Linked DNA regions of Homo sapiens: region 1 is linked to region 2. The links are contacts of gene promoters, found by promoter capture Hi-C in human tissues and cell types (Jung and others, 2019). All regions are on one chromosome and are shown on one strand. The core of a region is centred on a gene start or on the middle of the fragment in contact, and the rest is flanking DNA. Distances in the headings are between cores, read along the strand shown.

Region 1 (6,075 bases), core at 1,157-3,656, 430 kb before region 2:
CAGGTGAGCTTTTGTGATTGGCAATACTTCATGCGTGCTGTCACATGTTATTGCTGGAAAAATCAAGTCCTGTCCATATAAATCCACTGGGAGAGGAAAAACTGGAAGATTGAGATTATTTTCTCCTGGACTTGGCCCTAGAATATTTCACCTTTGATGGCTTTAACATGTATCTTTTCACTGTAAGAAACCATAATCAAGGCTGGGCACGGTGGTTCATGCCTGTAATCCCAGCACTTTGGGAGGCTGAGGCAGGCGGATCACAAGGACAAGAGATTGAGACCATTCTTGCCAACATGGCAACACCTCTGTCTCTACTAAAAATACAAAAATTAGCTGGGCGTGGTGGCAGGTGCCTGTAGTCCCAGCTACTGGGGAGGCTGAGGCAGGAGAATCGCTTGAACCCAGAAGGTGGAGGTTGCAGCGAGCCGAGATTGCACCACTGCACTCCAACCTGGCGACAGAGCGAGACTCTGTCTCAAAAAAAGAAAAAAAATGAAACCATAATCATGGTATAACCATTTGGAAGTGTTAGTGAATCACTGGCCTGAGGTTGGTCTTAGGGAACACCAGTAAAGTCATCTTCCCCTACATTTGGCAAACAGCCTAATGCTTGACAAAGCACTGGACCACCCAGCCTCTCTGAAGTCCTCATTACAATTGCTCAGGACAAAACCTATTAATTATCCCAGGTACACTTTTCCCCTTTATATTCCACAATTGTCATGGGCAAGCACTGTCAACTCTCCCTGTAACACACACCCTCTATTGAACCCCTTGTCTCTGTCTCTAGTCTAACCACTGGAACCCAAGCCCAAACCTTGTTGCCTGGAGCCCCGCTCTCCCCGGACCTGTTCCCACTCTGCCCCAATCACACAGGCCTTCGTCCCAATCCCTGAACAGTGCGTCAGGGCCTCTGCATGGCCCTTTCCATGCCTGGACTGTCCTCTCCCAGATCAGCTCAGCAATGGTTCCTGCCACAATTCTGCTTACACATCACCTCCTCAGAGACACCGTCCCTCCCCATCCTCTCTAACACACCCTCTGCTCACCCACACCAGCGGGCCCTAACTTCTCTCTACTTCAAACTGTGCTTCTGTTACTGTTTTGCTTCTATTATTATTATTATTATTATTTGAGATAGAGTTTTGCTCTTGTTGCCCCGACTGGAGTGCAATGGCATGATCTTGGCTCACTGCAACCTCCACATCCCAAGTTCAAGCGACTCTCCTGCCTCAGCCTCCCGAGTAGCTGGGATTACAGGCGTGCGCCACCATGCCCGGCTAATTTTGTATTTTTCATAGAGATGGGGTTTCACCATGTTGGCCAGGCTGGTCTCGAACTCCTGACCTCAGATGATAGCTCCCACCTTGGCCTCCCAAAGTGCTGGGATTACAGGCATGAGCCACCGTGCCCAGCTGTTTTTCTTCTATTATTATTGTTCTTGCAGGAGCTGGTAAAGTGGCTGATGTGGCCACAGCTCCATAAATCCATGTGGAACGAAGGGTGGACATCGCCTGAGTCCAGGAGACAGGACAGGGTCACTCATCTCTGTCCCTGGTGATGGAAACTCAGGCTCAGGAAAGAGCCTTGACCTGCCCTGGGTCACAGAGAGAATATGAGGGTCAGGGCTCAAGCCCAAGTGCTGTCTTCAGGCCCTTAGGCTGCCTCTCACACCCAGACTAGGAAGCTGGAGCAGAAAGTTTGCTAGAACAATCCTGAGAAGAGGCCTGCACAGTTCAAGGGGCAGCTTGGAGGAGGAGAGGAAGGGAGGGCGGGCTCTGGCCAGCAGGCTCTTGGACCTCAGGCCAGGCTCTGGCAGCTGCGTCTGGTATCAGGACTGCAGGTCCCGACAGGGGGCGGTGGCTCACGCTTGTATTCCCAGCACAGTCGCCAAGCCTAATGTCCCTTCCAACGGTGGAAAATTTTGGTAAAAATCAATGACAGGCTGGGCGTGGTGGTGCATGCCTGTGATTCCAGCTACTCAGGAGGCTGAGGCACGAGAATCTCTCGAACCCGGGAGGTCTAGGCTGCAGTGAGTGGAGATGGTGCCACTGTACTCCATCTGGACGACCGAGCAAGACTCTAACAACAACAACAAAAAAAACGGACTGCAGGTGCAGTGCCCAGCACAGAGCCTGCTACATAGGAATTCTCATTTTCTTCTCTTCCCTACTCTTTCCTTCCTTTATAATCTCTTCCTTTCCCTCTGAAGTACCGACCCCAGAGCTTGAGATCTCATCCCAGCCTCCCTCTTATTGCCATCCTCCCCTGCTGCCTTCCCCACACCCCTACCTCTCACAGGGTGGGGGTAGGGCCTCCTGGGACCCCAGTCCCAGCCCCAGCAGCAGTAGCAGGCACAGCTCCCAGGTCCTCCCTGGCATGGTGGCTGTGACTGTGACTGAATGAGCAAGCCCAGGCACCTTCGGCTTGCTGGGCACAGCCTGGCTCACCTGCCTGTCCAAGTCGGCCAAAGTCCAGCCTTTGAGGCGTGGCCACCTGAGGGGACGTGTGCTTGGTCTGTGTGTGGCCCGCTTGCCCCTCCTGCTCTCAGGGCACAGTGGCCACCTCCCTTGCTTCTACTTTGCCTCTTCTATTTCACAGTCTCAGCTGGTGCCAATGGCTCAGGCCCTTCCCTCAGAGCATGGTGGTGGGGGTGGGGAGTGGGCACCCAAAGGCCAGGGACACAGTCGAGGCCACACACCTGTAACCTGGATGCCAGGTTCCTTGGGTGGCCCCAAGACCACCAACCTCAGAGAGTTACCATTTCCCTTAACATTTCAAATGGAATGGCTCAAGATCCTGTCCCTGGTGTGGTGTGAAATTCAGGGCCTCTCACTGTTATCTGCAAGAGATACAGCGGAAGCACAGGACAGTAGAACCATTCTGTCTGGGGAGGACTAAGGGAGACCCACAATAGTGTGTCATTTGTAATGAGTCTTTTTTTTTTTTTTTTTGAGACTGAGTCTCACTCTGTCGCTAGGCTGGAGTGCAGTGGCGTGATCTCAGCTCACTGCCACCTCCGCCTCCCGGGTTCAAGCAATTCTCCTGCCTCAGCATCCTGAATAGCTGGGACTACAGGTGCCCGCCACCACGCCCAGCTAATTTTTGTATTTTTAGTAGAGACGGGGTTTCACTGTGTTGGCCAGGATGGTCTCAATCTCTTGACCTCATGATCTGCTCGCCTTGGCCTCCCAAAGTGCTGGGATTACAGGCGTGAGCCACTGCGCCAGTCCTAATGAGTCTTGATGACCGCATAGGAGTTTGCCAAGGGAAATGGGCTGGAGACCACTACAATGTATGCAGAGCATGTGAAGAGAAGAGCAAACCCCTCAGCCTAGCTGCAGAGAACTTGGTGTTCATGCAGGGAAGGGTTTTGAGATAGACTGGAGGAACATGTTGGCACCAGTCTGGAAATGGTCTTTGCCAAGCCAAGGAATGTAATTCCTTGTAATTCCCCAAAGTGGAACCAGCAGAGAAGTTTGTGAGCTTAAGAAGCAGATTCAGGCTGGGTGCAGTGGCTCATGCCTGTAATCCCACCACTTTGGGAGGCCGAGGCGGGTGGATCACCTGAGGTCAGGAGTTCAAGACCAGCCTGGCCAACATGGTGAAACCCCGTCTCTACAAAAATACAAAAATTAGCTGGGCATGATGGCGGGTACCTGTAATCCCAGCTCCTCAGGAGGCTGAGGTGGGAGAATCGCTTGAACTCGGGAGACAGAGGTTGTAGTGAGCCGAGATCATGCCACTGCACTCCAGCCTGGGCGACAGAGTAAGTCTCTGTCTCAAAAAAAAAAAAAAAAAAAAAAAAGCAGATTCGGTTACTTTAGGAGGCTCATCCCCTCAACATATGGAAGGTGAGCTGAAGGGACAGGGGACAGGGGGTGGGCAAGGCACATGGAGTTTAATGATAGGCATGACCTCTCCTGAAGGACTTAGGTTTGCAGTTAAGGATGTCAGTTGTGGCACCTGAGCAGTGTTTACTGCTATTAAAAAGAAAAACCTTAGACAAATTAAATTTAACCATTTATTCAAGCAAAGAAATGACTCATGAATCAGGCACCACTCTGAACTAGTAAAGGTTCAGATAGCTCCACCCAGTAATGTGGGCAGCTGGCATTGTTTTTTTTGTTTGCTTTGTTTTTTGAGACAGGGTCTCGCTCTGTTGCCCAGGCTGGCATGCAGTGGCTCCATCACAGCTCACTGCAGCCTTGATCTCTCAGGTTTAAGGGATTCTCCCACCTCAGCCTCCTGAGCAGCTGGGACCACAGGCACATGCCACCACGCCCAACTAATTTTTAAATTAAAAATAATTTTTTTTTTTTTAGAGATTGGGTCTCCCTATGTTGTCCAGGCTGGTGTGGAACTCCTGAGCTCAAGCAATCCTCCTGCCTCATCCTCCCAATGTATTGGGATTACAGGTGTGAGCCACCATGCCTGGTCAACAATTTTTAAGTGTACAATTCAATTTCCTTTTATTACATTCACAATGCTGTGCAACCACCCTTGCATTCTTTGGATAAATCTCACTTGGTCATGATGTCTAATCCTTTTAATAAACTGTTGGTTTTGGCTTGCGAGTATTTTTTTGAGGAATTTTGCATCAATATGTATAGAGCATATTTGACTGTAATTTTCTTTCCTTGTTTTGTTTTGTTTTTTTTTTTTTTTGGACACATAGTCTTGCTCCATCACCCAGCAGGCTGGAATACAGTGGCATGAACACAGCTCACCACAACCTCGACTTCCTGGGGCTCAAGTGGTCATCTGGCCTCAACCTTCTGAGTAGCCAGGACTACAGGTGCATGCCACCACGCCTGGGTAATTTTTAAATTTTTTTGTAGAGACTACATCTGACTGTGTCGCCCAGGCTGGTCTTGAACTCCTGGCCTCAAGTGATCCTCCCGCCTTGGCCTCCCAAAGTGTTTCTCCCCAAGTGTGAGCCACCATGCCCAGCCCTCTTGTGATGTCTTTATCTGGTTTTAATATCAGGGTAATGTTAGCCTCATAGCATGAGTTAGGAAATATGCCCCTCTTCTATTTGTGGAAGTGTTTGAGAAGGATTGTTAATTCTTTAAATGTTTGGTAGAATTTACCAATGAAGCCATCTGGTCCTGGACCGTATTAGGCAGAAACAATACATATATGGGGGATGGGGGTAGAGAGAGAGAGTTTGAGAGGTAGCTGGCAAGTCCAAAATCTCTAGGGTAGGCTGGCAGGCTGGAGAAACAGGGAAGAAGCTGCAGTTCAAGTCTGAAGGCAGCATGCTGAGAGAATTCCTTCTTCTTCTGGGGAGGTCAGTCTTTTTCAAATTAAAGTCTTCAACTGATTGGATAAGGCCCATCCAAGTTAGGGAGGGTAACCTGCTTTACTCAAAGTCTACAAATTTAAATGTTATTTTCATCTAAAAAATATCTTCACAGAAACATCTAGAATAATGCTTGACCAACTATCTGGATACCTTTGCCTAGCCATGTTGACACATAAAATTAAACATCTTTTTTTTTTTTTTTGAGATGGAGTCTCGCTGTGTTGCCCAGGCTGGAGTGCAGTGGCATGATCTTGGCTCACTGCAACCTCTGCCTCCTAGGTTTAAGCGATTCTCCTGCCTCAGCCTCGTGAATAGCTGGGATTACAGGCGCCCACCACCACACCCAGCTACTTTTTGTATTTTTAGTAGAGATGGGTTTTCACCGTGTTAGCCAGGCTGGTCTCGAACTCCTGGCCTCAGGTGATCCACCCGCCTTGGCCTCCCAAAGTGCTAGGATTACAGGCATGAGCCAACGTGCCCAGCCAATGTTCTTTAAAAAAACACATGACTCTACAGTGATTGTACTAACTTACATTCTCACCAACAGTATATGAGGGTTCCTTTTCTCCACATCCTCACCAGCATTTGTTATTGCCTGTCTTTTGGATAAAAGCCATTTTAACCGTAGTGAGATAATATCTCATTGTAGTTCTGATTTGCATGTCTCTGATGATCAGTTATGTAGCGCACCTTTTCATATACCTGTTTGCGACTTGTATGTCTTCTTTTAAGCAAGGTTTATAGTGATTCAGATCTTCTGCCCA
Region 2 (6,273 bases), core at 3,706-6,205:
AGTTCCCGGAAACAAAGCTACGATTTGGAAGGATGGTGTAAATTCTAAAGCGTAGATCCTTGAAAAGCCCCTCCCACTCTGTTTTTCTTGTCCTCGATTCTGGTATTTTTTTCTCAGCATCCCACCCACCTTCTGCCCCAGCTGTAGCAGTTAGTTGCCCGGCAACCCAGCGCAGCACTTCACTGAGGGATTGGGAGTACCCTCAGGTCTTGGATTTAACTCGAGACTTCAGCTTGGCCGTGGATCACTGCATTGTACCTAGCTCCCACAAGGAGGAGATGGAGATTTCCAGGCTGAGGCTCTGGAAAGAGCTGAGGAGGGAGAGGAATCAGACCCACAACTGATTTCCTGTGAGTCTGAGGAACTCCCAGTCAGGTTTCTTCCTGTAGGTCACTGTGCATTTTGCTTGGCCTCCTGCAGGTTGCTGTGCATTTTGCTTGGCCTGTTCCCCTGCAAACAACAATTCACCAGCTTTTTTTTTTTTTTTTTTTTTTTTTTTTTGAGACAGAGTTTCGCTCTTGTTGCCCAGGCTGGAGTGCAATGGCGCGATCTCGGCTCACCGAAACCTCCACCTCCCAGGTTCAAGAGATTCTCCTGCCTCAGCCTCCCGAGTAGCTGGGATTACAGGCAGTAGCTGGAATTACAGGCATGCGCCACCACGCCCGGCTAATTTTGTATTTTTAGTAGAGACGGGATTTCCCTATGTTGGTCAGGCTGGTTTGGGACTCCCGACCTCAGGTGATCTGCCCGCCTTGGCCTCCCAAAATGCTGGGAGTACAGGCGTGAGCCACCACGCCCAGCCAGTTCACCAGCATCTTTATTACCTTTCATTCCCCGACAGGCTCTTAGGCGGCAAATGATTTCCATTTGTCAGAGAGGAAGTCACCACCAGTGAGTTAGGGAAAGGACTCCAATAGCCTAGCGCTTTGTCCACTCTTCCCTCTATGGCATGTTCCAGGAGTCAGGGTCATGTTGACCGTTTTTAAGCCGAAGATAGTTTCTTCTTTCCCTCAAAATCAGATGTGAGGCCGGGCGCAGTGGCTAACGTCTGTAATCCCAGCACTTTGGTAGGCGAAGGTGGGTGGCTCACTTGAGGTCAGGAGTTCGAGACCAGCCTGGCCAACACGGTGAAACCCCGTCTCTACTGAAAATACAAAAATTAGCCGGGTGTGGTGGCACATGCCTGTAATCTCAGCTACTCAGGAGGCTGAGGCAGGAGGATCGCTTGAACCTGGGATGAGGAGGTTGCAGTGAGCCGCGATCATGCCACTGCATCCCAGCCTGGGCAACAGAGGGGAAACTGTCTCAAAACAAACAAACAAACAAACTAAATCAGATGTGAAATGGCTTTTCTACTTGAAAATGGCTCTAATTAACAACAACAAAAACCCAGATATGTATAAAATACATAAATTTTCGTAATTTACTTGCTAGTATTCCACCAGATTTTCAGTACTTATCCCACTGCTATTATTTTTCTGTGTGTGTTGTGTGTATGCACGTGTGCCCCTTTTAAACTAGAAACTCCCGGGAGGCAAGTGTTTTCTCTTCCACAGGGTGTCCCCATGGGGCTAGGAACACAGACATCTGTGTACAAGGAAGGCATCATCACACATAATGAGGCTGAGGCTGAAAGGAGGACTGAGGGCAATAGGTGCATATGGAGGGAGCAATTAGTTGTGACCAGAGTAAGTGGTCTTGAGGAAGAGAAGTATCATTTCAGTAGATTATAAGAGTAGAAGGACCTTTCACAGGCAGCGACAGTGAGACACCAGAAGCTGGTGGAAAGGAGGAGCTTGTGGGATCCCAGAGGAGGCAGCATTCAGTTATCTTGTTGATGACGAGTATACTGAGACTCCCTGGAGGTCTGAGAGCCAGTCTGTATCTATTTCCTTTTTTATTAGGAGGCCAATCCTAATAAATCTTCCTTCCCAGCCTGGTATTGGGAAGCTTTATCTCTTTCTTCTCCAGAGATCATTAGCCCTCCCTACCACCACCCTCCTGGGGAGGGTGGAAGGATGTAATCAAAGACAAGAGAGACTAAGGATTCATCATCCACATATACATGTTACTATCAGAAAATGGTTACTAAGATACTTGTCAGATAATCTGAGTATTTTTGTTCCCATGATGATAAAGTCCCAGTTGATGATCAGACTAATCAGAAGGAGAAACAAACACATGACTTTTGGCTTCACTTGAAATTGTGTGCCTTCCCTGGTAAAAGTTCAAAGCGTTTTCCTGAATGCTGAAGCCGGCCCTAGGATTCACAGACCAGTTGACTTGTCAGTGGCCCTGGACTGAGCAGACAGTGTTTGAGATGCACACCTCTTCTAAGTAGCCTTGAGTGGCTCCCAATGAGCAAGGCCAATCCACTGAATGTGATTGCTAGACAAAGCCTGTCCCAAAAATGTTTCATAGTGCCACAAAGACAATGAGACCCCTCTGGATAGTCTGGGGCTGTGATACTTGCAGGACTCTATCTGTGGCTCTGTCCAGTCAGCTGAATCACTCTTTTTCCTTTTCCTCCCACCTCTCCCCTCTTAGTCTAGAAAAAAGTTGTTAATTAAAAGCAAGCCCCAGGATTTCCCATTCCACTGGTATGGCATGAATGATATTTCAAAAGACAGAAATGGCATAGAAATTCTCAAAGCATACTTGAGTATTTTCTGTTAGACTTCTTAAAATTACAAAGTTTGTTAATCCCTACTATGTGCATAGGAAGCTCTTCAGTACTGTGGAGGATACAAACTAATATAATTGCAGTTGCTTGCCCCCAGGGAGTCTACTTCAGCATATTTGGAGCATCTTGGTTGAATTTGAGGGAAAAGAGATGACTAAGACATGGTTCCCACCCCTAGGCAGCTTCCTGATGCATGGAAAAAGCAGACATATAAACAATCAGCTAGACTCTAAGGCAGAATGTAAGTGCTAGAGGTCTAAGTAATGGAAGAAAGAAGGAGGACTAGGCTGGGCACAGTGGCTCTCACCTGTAATCCCAGCACTTTGGGAGGCCGAGGCGGGAGGATCACCTGAGGTCAGGAGTTCGAGATCAGCCTGGCCAACATGGTGAAACCCTGTCTCTACTAAAAATAACAAAAATTAGCCAGGCATGATGGCGCATGCCTATAGTCCCAACTACTTGGTAGGCTGAGGCAGGAGAATCACTCAAACCTGGGAGGTGGAGGTTGCAGTGAGCCAAGATCTCGCTACTGCACCCCAGCCTGGGCAACAGTGACTTTCTGTCTCAAGAAAAGAGAAAAAAAAAAAAAAAAAGAGGGAGGACTAACTAGGGAGACTCATGTAACTAGGTAGACTCACAGTTCAGATACTGAATTGTGAAGCAGTATCTGGCAGCATAGGACCAAGCACTCAGTGGAGAAGTTGAGGGAATAAATCAAAGAAGTCAGAGAATGGAGATCACTAGGGGGTCTGAGGGTTCCTGAAGGATTCTTGGGGGAAGAGGGTCTTCATAGGGAAAGCTTCTACCTGGACAACTTCCTGCATAACCTGCTCCCCTAAACCCTAGCTGCTCTTCCCACTGACAGCTTCCTCCTGCATCCCTGGTTCTGGCCCTGAGTTCTCTCCTCCCTTGATTTCATGTCTTCTCCTCCCTTTGAGATTAGAAACCCAGACTCTAGGAATCTCCACTGATTTGGCAGTCCAGTGACAATGCATGGGCAGGGCCACAGGAGGTTACCTCATTCACCCCCACCTCTCCCCATCATTCCTTACAGGGAAATCTAGGGAGGCCCAGGCTACCCCACCACCTCCTCTGGCTCAGACAAACCTGTTGCTGACCTGTCAGTTTCTGTCTAGCCCTGCCATCCCACACTTCAGAAGGCATTGTTTATTCTCTTATTCTCATGTGCTCATTCCTCAGACAACTACTTGGGTTTGGGAGAAAGATACTTAACACCTTTCCATCCTACCTCTTTAAGAAAGGGACTGTGTGCCAAAGACCTTCCCACATGTATGAAGAAGGGGCTCTTGGGAGAATGTGAATTCCCCCAGGATTCCTTTGAATCCTTTTGCAGGTATTTCCTTCCCCTGTCCTCAGCAAGCATTGATGAGCCCCAGTCCTGTAGAGGTTGAATCAACTCCTTGAGTCTAGGAAAAGATGGCTTCTGAGGCCAGAGGTTGGGCAGTGTACCTACAGCACCATTTCTTGGGAGCTTGTTGGGATATCACATACTTAGAGTGGCAAGGTCTTGTGGCTGAATCTATTGATAGTCCAGTGCTACATTGCCAGCTCCCTTGTCATTACCACCCCCTCTACACGTGCTCCATAGGCAGGAGCTGTTACTATGGAAATACATTATTTTTAAAAACAGACACACAGCCTGGGCTTGGGAATCTCCAGAACAAACCTACACGAGCAAGGAGGTTAATGGGGCTGTTTCTGGGTCCAAGCTCCAAGAGGAAGGAGGGTGATGATGGTGGGGGGAATTCAAATTCGGTGTTCTACTCTCAACCTCTCCCAGCTTCAGGTTCTGCTTTCTCTCTGTTGACATCAGCTGGACCTCTGCCAGACACTTCTATCTGGGAGGGACGCTCTGCGTCTCCTTACCCTGGGCCTAGCTTCCCCCAGGAAATGGGAAGCTAGAAGTCGCTGAGTCTGGGGGTGTTGGGAGAAGGGGGCGGTGATTTCCACAGGGGTCACCTCCTTCTTAACCTCACAGGCGTCCGACCTGTGGAAATCTAACAAGCATAGGGGAAAGCAAAGGCAGCATCTTAGGTAAGTGAAGTTACTCTTGCCTTGAGCTGAGTGTGGGAGCACCGCGATTGCAAGATGGGGCGAGGTGATCAAAGATCCCGCCTATTTTCAACCCCGGAACCTCCTCCGCTCGCTGCTAGCCCTCCCGCCCTCCTCCAGCGAGGGAGCGCCAGGCTGTCCTGGCCCCGCCCGGCGCGGGTGCGGCTCCTTTAAGGGCGGGTGGGGGCGGGGCGCCGGCGGTGTTGTCAGTGTCAGCTCTGCGCACGCAGCCCTCCCGGAGCCGGTGCCGGCCCGCGAGCCCCAGCGTCTCTGCAGACCAGTCCCCTCCAGGGTCCGGCGGGGCCCGCGCGGTGGGAGGAGTCGGGCACTGGCCGGCGACTAACGGGTCCGACTGCTGACCAAGCTAGGAGAGACCCGGACCACGGAGACAGAGACCCCGGCATCGCGACCCCCGAGGACCTCCTCTCCTCGCCCTGTGGCACCCACTAGTCCTGGGCACTCAGCCGCGGAGAGCCCCCGACCCCGCGCGCCCAGCCCCGGGGGAGCCCACCTCCTCCCCGCGGCCCGCCCGGGCCATGCTCCCCCGGGGCAGCGGGTGAGCCCCAGCCGGGACCGGGATCGGAGCCCGCGCGGAGCATGGATCCGGGCTGGGGGCAGCGGGACGTGGGCTGGGCGGCCTTGCTGATCCTCTTCGCCGCCTCGCTGCTCACGGTGTTCGCCTGGCTGCTGCAATATGCCCGGGGCTTGTGGCTGGCGCGGGCCCGCGGGGACCGGGGCCCGGGACCCGCCTTAGCCGGGGAACCCGCGGGTTCCCTGCGGGAGCTGGGCGTGTGGCGCTCGCTGCTGCGGCTGCGGGCGACTCGGGCTGGCGCCGCCGAGGAGCCAGGAGTCCGGGGCCTCCTGGCGTCACTCTTCGCCTTCAAGTCTTTCCGGGAGAACTGGCAGCGGGCTTGGGTGCGAGCGCTGAACGAGCAGGCCTGCAGAAACGGGGTGAGTTGGACCAAGCGCTTGGGTGGTCCCTTCAGCCTTTCCTTCCAGGGGAGGGACTGACTGCTCGTGCTAGGAGGCCAGACGAGGGTGGGCATAAACTGGGGAACCCTATGGCTTCTCTTCCCCTCCCGGATCAGAGAAAAGGGTGCCGCTAAGGCTGGAGGTTGTAGAAATCCAACTGGGTCCCCAGACTTCCATTTCTGTGGGCAAGGTACTCTGGTTCCAAACCCATGCACAAGTTGCTGTTCTCATAGCAACGCTAATCCCTGTGCCTGAGGGCACTTCCGCCTTGCCTGGGTGCTGGTTGTGTTGGGGCATGGGAGACAGGTGCACCTGCAGAAGGAATTTGCCTGCTTCTCATGCCACCACACCCATTTAACATTTCATGCCCCAAATCCCTGGTGTGGTCAGGCAGATCCCCAAGGAGCCTGAATCACCCCCCTACCCGACAGTAATTTCACTGCTACAGTCAAACACATCCTTCTCCTCCATGCTGGCCTGTGGTTCACTGGGGGTTGGGGAGTGTTCAGGTGGAGAGCAGATTGACAGTGCCCCTACCAGTAGAT

The links. Contacts are between HindIII fragments. The study calls those that stand out against the background at their distance.
Region 1: the fragment with the promoter of TREH here is called in contact with the fragment with the promoter of C2CD2L in region 2 in 1 of the 25 tissues and cell types used here (aorta).

What each region holds. Positions count from the first base shown.
Region 1 is chr11:118,677,244-118,683,318 of GRCh38, forward strand. TREH (trehalase) reads right to left here and starts at 2,407. Exons shown (of 15, transcript NM_007180.3): 1 at 2,296-2,407. The coding sequence starts at 2,384. RefSeq lists enhancers at 1,637-2,298, 2,299-2,958. The HindIII fragment of the contact is 23,297 bases long and covers 1-6,075 here.
Region 2 is chr11:119,102,389-119,108,661 of GRCh38, forward strand. It overlaps C2CD2L (C2CD2 like), which reads left to right and starts at 4,956. Exons shown (of 14, transcript NM_001290474.2): 1 at 4,956-5,707. The coding sequence starts at 5,354. RefSeq lists enhancers at 1-317, 21-733 and silencers at 4,791-5,240, 5,311-5,590. The HindIII fragment of the contact is 6,279 bases long and covers 2,717-6,273 here.